Regions from separate parts of the Homo sapiens genome. Here region 1 is linked to region 2. The links are contacts of gene promoters, found by promoter capture Hi-C in human tissues and cell types (Jung and others, 2019). All regions are on one chromosome and are shown on one strand. Each heading gives the region's core, a stretch centred on a gene start or on the middle of the fragment in contact. The rest is flanking DNA. Distances are from core to core; before and after follow the strand shown. Region 1 overlaps FBXL19 (F-box and leucine rich repeat protein 19). Region 2 holds the start of ARMC5 (armadillo repeat containing 5).

Region 1 (7,241 bases), core at 1,807-4,306, 520 kb before region 2:
TATGGCTTAATCCCTCTGTGAGTTTTGGAAAGGAAGTCTTTCCATTGGAAGGAAGTCTCTCCATCGGGTGCTTTTTTTCTTTTTTGAGATGGAGTCTTGCTCTGTCGCCCAGGCTGGAGTGCAGTGGTGCAGTCTCGGCTCACTGCCAGCTCCGCCTCCTGGGTTCACGCCATTCTCCTGCCTCAGCCTCCTGAGTAGCTGGGACTACAGGCGCCTGCCACCACGCCCGGCTAATCTTTTGTATTTTTAGCAGATACGAGGTTTCACCGTATTAGCCAGGATGGTCTCCATCTCCTGATCTCGTGATCCGCCTGCCTCGGCCTCCCAAAGTGCTGGGATTACAGGCGTGAGCCACTGCGCCTGGCCACTATTGGGTGCTTTTTCTAACACTTCTCTGATACTTATCTCCCTGTTTAACAAAAGTAGTCTTCAGGTAGTAGCCTAAAGCCACAGCAACACCTGGCTAGGATTTAATAACTCTGGTCTTTTTTGTGTTTTATTTATTTATTTATTTATTTTTGAGACAGAGTCTCGCTCTGTCACCCAGGCTGGAGTGCAGTGGCGCAATCTCGGCTTACTGCAAGCTCCGCCTCCCAGGTTCATGCCATTCTCCTGCCTTAGCCTCCCAAGTAGCTGGGACTACAGGTGCCCGCCACCACGCCCGGCTAATTTTTTGTATTTTTAGTAGAGATGGGGTTTCACCGTGTTAGCCAGGATGGTCTCAATCTCCTGACCTCGTGATCTGTCCACCTTGGCCTCCCAAAGTGCTGGGATTACACCACACTTGGACTTTTGTGTTTATTTTTAAGATTAACATATTTATGTGAAACAATACTGGGGTTTTTTTTTTTGTTTTTTTTTTGAGACGGAGTCTCGCTCTGTCGCCCAGGCTGGAGTGCAGTGGCACGATCTCGGCTCACTGCAAGCTCCACCTCCCAGATTCACGCCATTCTCCTGCCTCAGCCTCCCGAGTATCTGGGACTACAGGCGCCCTCCACCACGCCCAGCTAATTTTTTGTATTTTTTTTTTAGTAGAGACGGGGTTTCACTGTGTTAGCCTGGATGGTCTTGATCTCCTGACCTAGTGATCCACCCACCTCGGCCTCCCAAAGTGCTGGGATTACACGCATGAGCCACCGCGCCCGGCAACAATACTGGTTTTAAGTGCAAAGAGGAGATGATTCAAAGATAAATCATGTTACGCAGATAAGTGAACAGCAAATACTGGAGCTTGGGAATCACTGCCCCAGCCCAGGGCTTCTACAAGGAAAAGCCTTTCAGAGTCATGAGGGCAGGGAGGGAGGCAAGAGAAAGCTTCCCTTGGGAGGCCAAGGGAAGGATCGCTTGAGCTCAGGAGTTCAAAACCAGCCTGGACAACCTTGTCTCTACTAAAAATAAAAAAATAGGCCAGGCACAGTGGCTCACGCCTGTAATCCCAGCACTATGGGAGGCCAAAGTGGGCAGATCACCTGAGGTCAGGATTTCGAGACCAGCCTGGCCAACATGGAGAAACCCTATCTCTACTAAAAATACAAAAAATTAGCCGGGCGTGGTGGCGCATGCCTGTAATCCCAGCTACTCTGGAGGCTGAGGCGGGAGAATCGCTTGAACTTGGGAGATGGTGGTTTCAGTGAGCCAAGATCACACCATTGCACTCCAGCCTGGGCAACAAGAGCGAAACTCTGTCTCAAAAAAAAAAAAAAAGTCAGGTGTGGTGGCATGTGCCTGTAGTCCCAGCTACTCAGGAGGCTGAGGTAGGAGGATGGCTTGAGCCCAGGAGTTTAAGGTTGCAGTGAGCTGTGATCGCAGTACTGCACCCCAGCCTGGGTGACTAAGCAAGACACTGTCTCAAGAAAAAAAAAAAAAAGCTTCCTGGGCCTGCTGCTTCTGACACAGTCTATTGAGTCTCAGAGGCATTTCTGGACATGCCTTTGAGAACTACTGAACTCAGAGAAGAGAGTTCTCAAACTGAGTCCAAAGGAACTTCAGTGTACTACAAAATGTTACTAGATTACCTTGGGAGAGGTGGGGAAGGATTCCTGGGGAAGTACGTTTGAGAGGCCCTTCTCCAGTTCACTGCATGTTTTTTGTTTGTTTGTTTGTTTGTTTGTTTTTGAGATGGAGTCTCTCACTGTTGCCCCAGCTGGTGTGCAGTGGTGCGATCTCGGCTCGCTGCAATCTCCGCCTCCCGGGTTCAAGTAATTCTCCTGCCTCAGCCTCCCGAGTAGCTAGGATTACAGGCGCCCGCCACCATGCCCAGCTAATTTTTTGTACTTTTAGTAGAGACAGGGTTTCACTAGTAGAACAGCCAGGCTGTTCTCGAATTCCTGACCTCATGATCCACCCACCTCGGCCTCCCAAAGTGCTGGGATTACAGGTGTGAGCCACTGCACCCAGCCCACTGCATGTTAGATAGTCTGTTGAGGCCTGTGGAGTGCTCGGGTTAGGAAACCTGTTTAATGTTGCTTAGGACTCGTTCATCTTTGTAGCTTCAATACTTGGGACCTATAACGCTTTCTATAATCAGAGTGAATAAATGAAATGCTGTAGATGAGGAGGTGGGGGAGAGTGGTCAGTGGAAGCTTTAAGTAGTTACTAGCTTGATTCATTCATTACAAATGGGCAGCTGGGTGCAGTAGCTCATGCCTGTAATCCCAGTGTTTTGGGAGGCCAAGGCAGGAGGATCGCTTGAGGCCAGGAGATCAAGACCAGCCTAGGCAACATAGTGAGACCCTGTCTCTACAAAAAAATTGTTTAAAAATTAGCCAGGCGTGGTGACATGTGCCTGTGGTCCCAGCTACTCAGGAGGCTGAGGTGGGAGGATTGCTTGAGCCCAGTAGGTTGAGGCTGCGGTGAGCCTGAGTCCAGCCTGGGTTACAGAGTGAGACCCTGTCTCAAAAAAAATTTTTTTTCAAAAAGTGGAAAACGCAAATCTGCCCTTGTGGAATTTACATTGTAGTTGGAGGAACACAGTAATGTAATAGGGAAGATATTAGGGCTGTAAGTCCAGCTGCGGGCAGCTGGCTGTCAAGATGGGACAGGTGTGGATCAGAAGCAGAGATGAGTAAAGGAGGCAAGGACCCATGAGCACCAGAACTCAGTCAGGAATCAAGAAGCCCAAGGGTGGCTGGAGACGACTGGATAACACCAGTCCCCTTGGCATGACATCAGGCAGCATGCGTGGCATTTGTGTATGTGTTGGGCAGCACACTTTCTATGCTGGGAGGCCCACAGCTGGGATGAGCCCATGTGACCTGACAGCTGCCCTGTGGGCAGGCAGAGTGGGGGGGCTATTGCCTTCAATCATAAACGAGGCTTCTGAGGCTCAGGGAGAGGAACAGACTTGCCCAGGGTCTCATTTCCAGTTAGTGATGGAGTTGGGTTCCAATCCCAGTGCTCTTGGCTGAGGTCAGGTGCTTCTTGCTACCCTGTTGTCTGTGTGGCCAGAAGAGAGCTGGGGTGCACCCTTGGAGCTGGGGAGCCTGGGAACTGTGGGCTGCTGAGAGCTGAGGGCTGAGGTCTCTGTCTCCCCCCTATGGCCGCCAGGTGCTATGACAAGCGTCTGTGGCCTCGAATGGACCTGAGCCGGCGGAAGTCACTGACCCCGCCCATGCTCAGTGGTGTGGTTCGCCGCCAGCCCCGTGCCCTGGACCTCAGCTGGACAGGTGTCTCCAAGAAGCAGCTCATGTGGCTTCTGAACCGACTACAAGGTAGGGTGTGTGGTACGGAGGACAGGGTGGGGACAGGGACAGGCCTGGGATGGAGTCCTCACAGCACCTGCTTCCTGACTGCCCCCTCTCCGCAGGCCTGCAGGAGCTGGTGCTCTCTGGCTGCTCCTGGCTCTCTGTCTCTGCCCTGGGCTCAGCCCCACTGCCAGCCCTGCGGCTCCTGGACCTCCGCTGGATCGAGGATGTTAAAGACTCCCAGCTCCGGGAGTTGCTGCTGCCTCCACCAGACACCAAACCAGGTGCAACCTCTGTTTGCTTTTCTGGAGAATGGGCTGGGCAAGGGTAGGGTAGGAGGCCTCTCAGGTCTCTTCTGACTCATGCTGGATGGTAAAGTATTTGAAGAAAGGAAAGAATACATGAGTTTGAATAGGAAGGCCCTGGTTGGGCATTATTCATTCATTCACCCACCTGCTGTGTACTTTGAACTGAGTCTTGAAAGGAACAGGGTTTTCCCAGGGAGTGTGAGACTCAGCAGTTTGGTGGGGCAGGAGGCCCATATTGGCAGAGGGGGATGCTGGGAGCAGAGGCCATCTCTCTTCATCTACTTAAATCTCATCATCCTTTAGGCCTGGGTATAAATGCCACTTCCTCCAAGAAGCTCTCCCTGATCCCACCCCACATTGAGCTCAGAGTCCCTCTCAGCTTTGAGAGCAGCCCGCCAGCATAATACTGGGCAATTGTGGAGTGCCTTGATGCACATCTGTGCCCTCCTGCCAGGGTCTCCAGCTCCCTGAGGGCAAGCGCTGGCTGGTCCCCCAGCACGTTCTCAGTGGCTGCTCCATAGATAGCTGTTGAATGAATAACTTGAATGAGCAATCAGGATGGGAGAGGTCTAGTTTGAGGAAAGATTTTCAAAAGGAGATTTGCAGTCCCCTGAAATAAGATAATCCTTTTGTTTGTTTTTGTTTTTTGAGACCATCTGGCTCTGTCACCCAGACTGGAGTGCAGTGGCAAGATCTCGGCTTACTGCAACTTATGCCTCCTGGGTTCAAGTGATCCTCCCCACCTCAGCCTCCTGAGTAGCTGGGCCTACAGGCGTGTGCCACCACGCCTGGCTAATTTTTTTGTAATTTTTTTTTTTTTTTTTTTTTTTTTGAGGTGAAGTCTTGCTCTGTCGCCCAGGCTGGAGTGCAGTGGTGCTATCTCGGATCACTGCAAGCTCCACCTCCCGGGTTCACGCCATTCTCCTGCCTCAGCCTCCCAAGTAGCTGGGACTACAGGCGCCCGCCACCACGCCTGGCTAATTTTTTGTATTTTTAGTAGAGACGGGGTTTCACTGTGTTAGCCAGGATGGTCTTGATCTCCTGACCTCATGATCCGCCTGCCTCGGCCTCCCAAAGTGCTGGGATTACAGGTGTTAGCCACCGCACCCGGCCTGTAATTCTTATAGAAACAGGGTTTCATCATGTTGTCCAGGCCGATCTCGAACTCCTTGTCTCAAGTGATCTGCCCACCTCTGCCTTCCAAAGTGTTGGGATTATAGGCGTGAGCCACCACACCTGGCCAAAAGAATCTTTTCTTTTGGAGTTCTTTCACCCCTCTCTTTCATAGTTCCCTTCTTCCCACCATGCCCCCTCCACAACAGCCCTGAAAGGGGAGAATAGAGAAGCAACTAAGATTCTTCCCGTATTCTAGATGAGGCACTGGAGGCCCAGAGGGATTGACTGCTGCAGGTCACCCAGTCAGGCCAGAGCACTCAGCCATTGTCCACTCTTACCAGAATTGGACTGAGTTGGAGAGCTATGGGTGGGGGGTAAGGTGGGCATTGGGAATGGTGCATCCTGGGAGGTGAGAAAGTGCTGGCTGGTCCATTTCCTCCTGCTGGAATTCAGTTCAGTTCAGCCCTTTATCAGGAGCTCAGGAAGGTGGGCCTTTTTTTTTTTTTTTTTTTTTTTTTTTAGTTTTTAAATTTTTTTTTTAACTTTTAAGTTCATGGGTATATGTGCAGGTTTGTTAAATGGGTAAACTTGTGTCATGGGGGTTTGTTGTACCGATTATTTCATCACCCAGGTATTAAGTCTATTTACCATTAGTTATTTCTCCTGATCCTCTCCCTCCTCCCTCTGAAAGGCTCCAGGGTGTGTTGTTCCCATGGATGTGTCCATGTGTTCTCATCATTTAGCTCCCATTTCTAAGTGAGAACATGCAATTTCTGTTCCTGCATTAGTTTGCTAAGGATAATGGCCTCCAGCTCCTTCCATGTTCCTGTAAAGGACATGATCTTGTTCTTTTTTATGGCTGCATAGTATTCCATGGTGTATATGTACCACATTTTCTTTATTCATTCTTTCATTGATGGGCATTGAGGTTGATTCCATGGCTTTTACTATTGTGAACAGTGCCATACACCTTCAAACTCTTGCCCAGCTTAAATGCCACCACCTCAGTGAAATCCTCACTGATGCCTACTCCTCCCTGCCCAAGCCAGAAGTGACTTCTCTTTCCTCTGCTTTCCTCTATGGGCCTTTCCTCCTTGTGCCTTTAGCTGTGGCCCAAGGTTGAGGGCATCTGTAAAGGTATCCCCTCTCCAGGCGCTTGGCTCCTCAAAGACAGGAGGAGGGGTTAAAATTTAGGGCTTGCAAAGTCAAGTGCCCATAGAGTTGGCCTGGGAGGTAACAGAAGTGATGCATTGGTGTAGGACATTAGGGAGTGGCACCTAGCCACCCAGCTCCCCTCAGTCATCATCTGGTGGGAAGGAGTGCCTAGTGAGGCCACATCTTACGATTCTTCAAGGAAAAGCTCAGTATGTAAATTTATTTATAAAAATGTCCTTTTTGTAGTGTTAGTCATTAAGGAAGTTTTTAGCATTCTGTAGACTCCATAAAACATGTTTGGAGGGCAGCCTCATGGTTTGTGCCATCTGATCTATTAATAGTTTATCTTAGGGATAGGCTGGTGCCTGGGAGGCAGACAACACTGTGGTAAGAGTTCAGATTCAGCATCACCAGGCCTGGGTTTCCTGGCTGTAAACAGGAATGATGATCAGAGATCTTGTCTCCCAAGGCTGTGGTTCTTAAAGTGTGGTCGGGGGACCAGCAGCATCCACAAAACTGGAGAACTTGTTAAAAAAGTAAACTCTGGGCCGGGCATGGTGGCTCACACCTGTAATCCTAGCACTTTGGGAGGCCGAGGTGGGCAGATCACTTGAGGTCAGGAGTTTGAGACCAGCCTGGCCAACATGGTGAAACCCCATCTCTACTAAAAAAATACAAAAAATTAGCCAGGCGTGGTGGCAAATGCTTTTAATCCCAACTACTTGGGAGGCTGTGGCAAGGAGATTGCTTGAACCTGGGAGGTGGAAGTTGCAGTGAGCCGAGATTGCACCACTGTACTCCATCCTGGGTTACAGAGTGAGACTCCATCTCAAAAAAAAAAAAAAAAAAGTAAACTCTGGTCAGGTGCGGTGGCTCAGGCCTGTAATCCCAGCACTTTGGGAGGCCAAAGTGGGAGGATCAAGGCTACAGTGAGCTACAGGGAGGTTGAGGCTGCAGTAAGCTGTGATTGTACCACTGC
Region 2 (6,538 bases), core at 3,911-6,410:
CTCGTGATCCGCCCACCTAGGCCTCCCAAAGTGCTGGGATTACAGGCGTGAGCCACCGTGCCCGGCCAGGAGGGGATCATTTGAGCCTAGGAGTTCAAGACCAGTCTGCAACCTGGCAAGATCCTGTCTCAATTAAAAAAAAAAAAAAACAAAAAAAACAACAACAAACCAAGCCCCAGAAATCGACTGTGATGTGAAATCTCCTTATTTAAATGTTGGCTCTTTAAAAAAATAAAAAGACCAGGTTAGGTGGCTCACATCTGTAATCCCAGCATTTTGGGAGGCTGAGACCAGAGGAACACTTGAACTCAGGAGTTCAAGACCAGCCTGGGCAACACAGTGAGACCCCGTCTCTACAAAACATTTTTTAAAAATCAAAAAATTAGCCAGGTGTGGTGGTGTATGCCTGTAGTCCCAGCTCCTTGGGAGGTTAAGGTGGGAGGATCACTTGAGCCCAGGAGGTTGAGGCTACAGTGAGCCACAATTGCACCACTGCACTCCAGCCTGGATGACAGAGTGAGATTCTGTCTCAAAAATAAATAAATAAATAAATAAATAAATAAATGGGCATGGTAGCTCACACCTGTAATTCCAGCATTTTGGGAGGCTGAGGCAGGGGGATTGCTTGAGCCTGGAAGTTTCAGAGACCAGCCTGGGCAACAAAATGGAACTCAAAAAGTAAAAATCTTGGCTTGTTTGAAAACACACACACACACACACACACACACACACACACACACACACAGCCAAAACAAATGTGTTTCCCATCTCGGGCTTGGGCACTGGGTCACAAGCTTGGACAGTGAAGCTACTTCTAAACCCAGCACAGGGTACAGTGGATGCAGGACATGGGATAAACTCCTGTTAGATTAAGCCCGTCCCTCTGCTTCTGAGGTCTGGCCTGCCTCGCTGTTCTGGTCAGAACCTGTTTTATGCAATTGGAGAGGAGAGGGGTCCCAGGAGTATTAGCCCTAATGTGAGAAATTAGATTACAGGTCTCTGAAAGGGATTCTGCAAACCAATCCTCCTTCCAAGCCTACTCTACCCATACCTAATATTCTTAAGCAGTTATGAATTTTGCAGAGGTCTACAACACTTGACACTCACTCAAGGCAACTGTGAGGAAACTGAGGCTTAAAGGCCACTAGTAAGCAGTGTAAAAAGGACCTGATCATGACAATTATTCTTTGAGTGCCTACCATGCATGTGCTGGGCTCAGGCCCTTCACTCAAACCCTGGCTCGTACTCTCTGAAGGGTCCTGGGTGAGGAAGATGTCAAGAACCCCATACCTCATCACTGACTCCCTGCCGGGGGCATGTGCTGCTCCCAGCCTGAGATGAGTGCTGTTCATTACACGTCATCTCCATGAAGCCTCCCGCATTTGCTCCAGGAAAGGCCCGTTCGCCACCCTGGCGTCATTCACTCTGTGTTGCTGATATTGAGTCTGTTTCCTTCAAGGGGAAACAGGCTACCCAAGGACTGGGGCTGCTGCCTTCATTTCTGTAACCTCCGGGGGGAGCTCTTGTGTGAGCCGCATGATGGATGCTTGCTAACAGCTCTAGGCAGGAGGCAGAGGGAAACTGAGGTCTGCCGAGTCATCCCTGGCCCAGGTACTTCATGCGTGTGCAGTGTTGCTGTGGAATCTTTACCACAACCTCCCATCCCTGTTTTACAGATGAAGAAACAGGCTCAGAAGAGGCAGACGTGTCTAAGATCACACAAGCCTTGACACCATGAGCTAGAAGCTGAGGGTGAGGTCACTTCACATCCCTTCCCTTTAGGTTCTACTCTATGTGGGTAGCGTCCTCGACACAGAAAGCCTGATAAAAGATGGCAAAATTACCGGGCGTGGTGGCTCATGCCTGTAATCCTAGCACTTTGGGGGGCTGAGGCGGATGGATCACTTGAGGTCAGGAGTTCGAGACCAGCCTGACCAACTAGAGGCTGGTCTTTAGTAGAGGGTTGGTGAAACCCTCTACTAAAAATACAAACACTGGCTGGCATCGTGGCGCAAGCCTGTGGTCCCAGCTACTCGGGAGGCTGAGGCAGGAGAATCACTTTAACCCAGGAGGCGGAGGTTGCAGTGAGCTGAGATCGTGCCACTGCACTCCAGCCTGGGCAACAGAGTGAGACTCCGTCTCAAAAAAAAAAAAAAAAAAAAAAAAAAAAGATGGTAAAATTTGGGGGCAGCAGACCAGATGCCTGGACTGATGGTAGGACTGTCCCACAAGGGGTGGACATTAGGTCCTTGAAACAGACAACTCCCTCCCCCAGCAGGGAAGGGAAGGGCCTCAGAGCTTGGTGTCTACTCTGAGCACAGGCAGGTGCTTTGGGAAGCCTACCCCTGGCTCTCACATACACAAAGTTATGCCAGTAGAAATATATGTTTGGGCAATGCCCAGGCAAAAGGGCCATGTTCAGTCCCCAATGTCCAGGCACAAAGGACTCTTCGCCACTCTTCCCTCTCTTGACAGACTGGCAGAAAAGGAGCCTGGGGAACTTGGAAGGGAAGGGGATAAGGCAGGGGAAGGGGCAGATGACAAACCCTGGGCCTCTTGCCCCTGCCCAGAAATGCAACAAAGCAACCCCTGAACTCAACATACAGGTCTGTTCTGGGGCCCCCACCACCCTAGCATCATCCATAATGATAGTTCTCACGTGCTGAGAGGACTTTTGAAGGGCTCACACACCCAGGGCTCACACAATGGTCCCAAGTTCAAATTCTCTGGCCCATCTGCCAGAACACAGGATCCCTCATGGTTCCCTCTGGAGGTTAGGAATGCCCCGCCTGCGCGCTGCCATGGAACTCCTCACAGGGGCTTGCCTGATTTCTGGTCCCATTCCTCTGGGAAGAGGTAGCTGTTGTTCTAGGTGTGATTAACCCCATCACTCCCTAGGCCTGTGAAGGGACTGTGTCAGCTACTGCCAGATCTGCAGGCAGCTGGGTCCACGCTGGATAGCTCCCGCCATTCCAAAACTCTCCCTTCAGCTGGTCGACGTTCTGTCTTTGTAACTTCAAAGAACAAACCTAAGCCCTCTCAGCTGACTGGGCTCTTTGAAGGCAGTGATCACAGATCTAGTGTTCTGATTCTTCCAGACTGGGGCTCCTTTGTTAAAAACAATTTTTAAATTTGTTATTTTTTTGAGACACTCTCTGTCGCCCAGGCTGGAGTGCAGTGGCACGATCTTCGCTCACTGCAGCCTCCGCCTCCCGGGGTTCAAGTGAGTCTCCTGCCTCAGCCTCCCGAGTAGCTGGGATTACAGGCGAGAGCCAACACGCCTAGCATTTTTTTTTTAGTAGAGACAGGGTTTCAATATGTTGGCCAGGCTGGTCTCGAACTCCTGGCCTCCAGTGATCCGCTAACCTTGGCCTCCCAAAGTGCTGGGATTACAGGCATGAGCCACCATGCCCAGCCCAGACTGGGGTTCCTTGACTTAGCAAAGGGTTGGGCAAAAAGATGTGGAGACCCCCTCGCCCCAACCGAATCCCATCATTAGCTCTAAAATCAACAGCCCTAAGGGAGCAGAAGGGGGTCTGCTTAGAGATCCTGGTTCCTTCCATTTCCTTGAAGTCCGAACCAAAGTCAGAGCTGAAGTTTCAGCTAAAATTGAAGCCAGGGCTATTTGCAGAGGCTGCCGCCCTAGTGCGTCCGCTGGTGCTGGCCCAGGTTGGAGCTTTGCGCTAGGGCCCTGCCACACTGCAGGCAGACGCAGGGGTGCTGCTGTGGGCCGCCTAGTGGATGGGCAGGTGGGAGCTGTGGCCGAAGGTCTGGCCACACTCACCACCAAGCATCAGGTTTCCGGACTTTGTGACTGTGCTGGTGCCGCAGCAGATTCCAACTGTGCACAAAACTCTTACTACAAACAAGGCACTTAGAGGCCTTCTCACCCATGTGGAGCGCAGGTGCTGCAACAGGGTGGAGCCAAGGCTGAGACTCTTGCCGCAGTCCCCTCAGCGGTAAGGCTTTTAGCGGTGTGAGCGCGCTGGTGCTGGATCAGGTTGGAGCTGACGCTGAAAGTCTTACCACACTAGGCACAGGCATAGGGCCGAAGCGATGGTCACACTCGGGGCAGGAGTACGGCTTTTCACCGGTGTGTACCCAGTGGTGCTTAACCAGATCAGAGCCACATCGGAAGCTTCTGCCATAACCCGGACAACGGTAAGGCTTGTCACCAGAGGGGCTGCCTTGGTGGTGAATGAAGCCGGGGAGGCAGGCTGTGGTCAGTCCACATTTCCGGCACTCGCAGGTTTTGGGGCTTGTAGACGGTTGCTCTTGGCAAAGGCTTCTTCCTCCCCAGGGCTAGAGCCTGACCATTTTCCGGGCGGGCAGCTGCCCCGACCACACCAGGAAGGGCTGCTCAGGCGGAGCCACCTCGCAATCCAGGGGTGACCTGGGGGCTCCCCGGGACGCGAATGTCCCGCTCCCCCGCCGCCCCGCCCCGTCCGGATTCTCCCTCGCCTCTTCTGGCGCGGCCGACTGCGCTGCGAGTGAAGAACTCCCCGTTTCCTAGATGCCAGCTCCTGAGCTCACGAGCACGTCCAGAGCGGAGGACACTCGGGACACCGGGGTCCAGCTCCGGAAACGGAAAATTCCACAAGCCCGTCACTCTAGGAAGCGGCAGCGAACGTTCTCGGTAGGTTTAACCCTCTTCTTCCTCTGACCGAGCGAGGGCTCCCCGTCTGCGGCGCGGTCAGGACCCCGCACTTTCGGCCCGGCTCGGGGTTCTCGGAGTCCGTCCCAAGGCCGGGCCGCACCACCGCTGGGGGGCAGCGAAGCGAGCCTAGAGGAGAAAAGGCGGTCCCCGCCGAGTGCACGCCGGGGGCGGGGCACGGCACGAAGGCTCCGTGGTCGGACTTCTGGGCTGTTCGGAGGCCCTGGCCCACCTGGAGGGCCCTGGAAGAGTTTCCAGCGCTTCCCGAGGTAGGCGTGAGAAGCTCGACGCGGACCACATCTCCCTCATGCACCGCCCGCACGTCCCAGGATGCGCTGCGATTAAGGTACTGCCGCGCCTCGTGTGCAAGGACAGACTTCCGGGGTCGAGAACTACAACTTCCGACTTGCATCACTGCGGTGGCGCTAAACAGCGTCAGCGAGGCGGTGCCCGACGATTTCCCTGTCTTCCAGTTCCGCTCCCTGGGATCAGCGGCGAGAAGCGGGGCGGAGTCTGAGGCCCGAGCCAAGATGGCGGCTGCGAAGCCAACCCTCACGGACTCGCTCTCGTTCTGCCTCGCGCAGCTCGCGGCGGCGGCCGGGGAGGCTCTGGGTGGGGAAAAGGACCCAGCGACCAACGAGACACCCCTGAGCCGCGCGCTCCTAGCCCTCCGCACGCGCCACATCAAGGCAGCGGGGGGAATCGAGCGCTTCCGGGCACGCGGCGGGCTCCGCCCCCTACTCGCGCTGCTACGGCGAGCGGCTGCAGCGGGTTCCGCCCCGTCCCAGGCAGGCCCCGGCTCCGCCCCCTCGTCGGCCGCGTCGGGAGCTTCTAGCCCCGCCCCCGCGTCGGGCCCCGCCCCCTCCGCTGTGTCGTCGTCTAGTCCTACGCCGCCAGTGCGCCTGCGCAAGACGCTGGACTTGGCGCTCAGCATCCTAGCCGATTGCTGTACGGAAGGGGCGTGCCGGACCGAAGTGCGCAGACTCGGAGGCATACTCCCTTTGGGTAAGTGCTCCGCCCCCGTTTCCTAGAAAGATTAGGTTTGCAACTCCCTTGCTCTCTAGACCCGGGCAGTCTGGAGTTCTTTGTGTCCTATCCCGGAATAACGTGCTTTGTGATGGCGCATCGCTCCTGTTTCTCAATCTGTTGTGCCCCGTGACGTCACTGCACTCTCTATAGATGAGAGAGAGCCCTCCCAGACCAGATAATTGTAGCCATTATCTAGGAATTGGTTGTTGAGGACTTCTTTCGAAGCTGGACTAGCGGAGGCCAAAGAGTTATTTGGTGATTTTTTCAGATGATTCTTACCGTCCAGTTATGATGTTCATAGCAGACATTCAGTGCCCAACTATGTGTCCGGCCCTGTGCAAGGTTCTGAAGCCCCACTGATGAGCTGGAAGGTGTAGTGGTTCAGAAAGGGAGATCTGCAAAAGTCACCTAACCCCTCCGAGGCTAGGATTCCTTGTAAAATGGGGCAATAATAGCTACCTAAAAAAATCAGAGTGGGGAGAAAACGAAGTACAAATATGGCACGAATATGCAAATATTCTAAGCATGATACGTATTTCAAGTTATTAAAAACTAGCATAAGCTGGGTGCAGTGGTACGCGCCTGTAGTTCCAGCTATTTGGGAGGCTGAGGCGGGAGGATCCCTTGAGCCTAGGAGGTTGAGGCTGCAGTGAACAATGACTGCCTGTGAATAGCCACTGCATTCCAGCCTGGGCAACGTAACAAGACCTCGTATCTTAGAAAACCAAACAAATCAGTAGTCGCTTAGGAAGCAGGAAAAAATAAATAAAAATAATTAAAACCAGCACAGTAAGAACAAATCCTAGCAAAACATAAGCTTTTCTGTTTACCAGCTAAATTGGTGCCTCCTAGTGG

What was found. Contacts are between HindIII fragments. The study calls those that stand out against the background at their distance.
Region 1: a contact is called between a fragment that was not itself captured here and the fragment with the promoter of ARMC5 in region 2, in 3 of the 25 tissues and cell types used here (dorsolateral prefrontal cortex, lymphoblastoid cells and spleen).

Annotation. Positions count from the first base shown.
Region 1 is chr16:30,938,570-30,945,810 of GRCh38, forward strand. It overlaps FBXL19 (F-box and leucine rich repeat protein 19), which reads left to right. Exons shown (of 11, transcript NM_001382779.1): 8 at 3,547-3,710; 9 at 3,806-3,967. Among named protein-coding and RNA genes, the nearest start is that of ORAI3, 6.9 kb to the right of the region's middle. RefSeq lists a silencer at 3,441-3,570 and an enhancer at 3,995-4,937. The HindIII fragment of the contact is 5,049 bases long and covers 533-5,581 here.
Region 2 is chr16:31,454,341-31,460,878 of GRCh38, forward strand. ARMC5 (armadillo repeat containing 5) reads left to right here and starts at 5,161. Exons shown (of 6, transcript NM_001105247.2): 1 at 5,161-5,659. The coding sequence starts at 5,185. RefSeq lists enhancers at 3,075-3,643, 4,291-4,831, 4,830-5,169 and a silencer at 5,360-5,709. The HindIII fragment of the contact is 6,359 bases long and covers 1-5,319 here.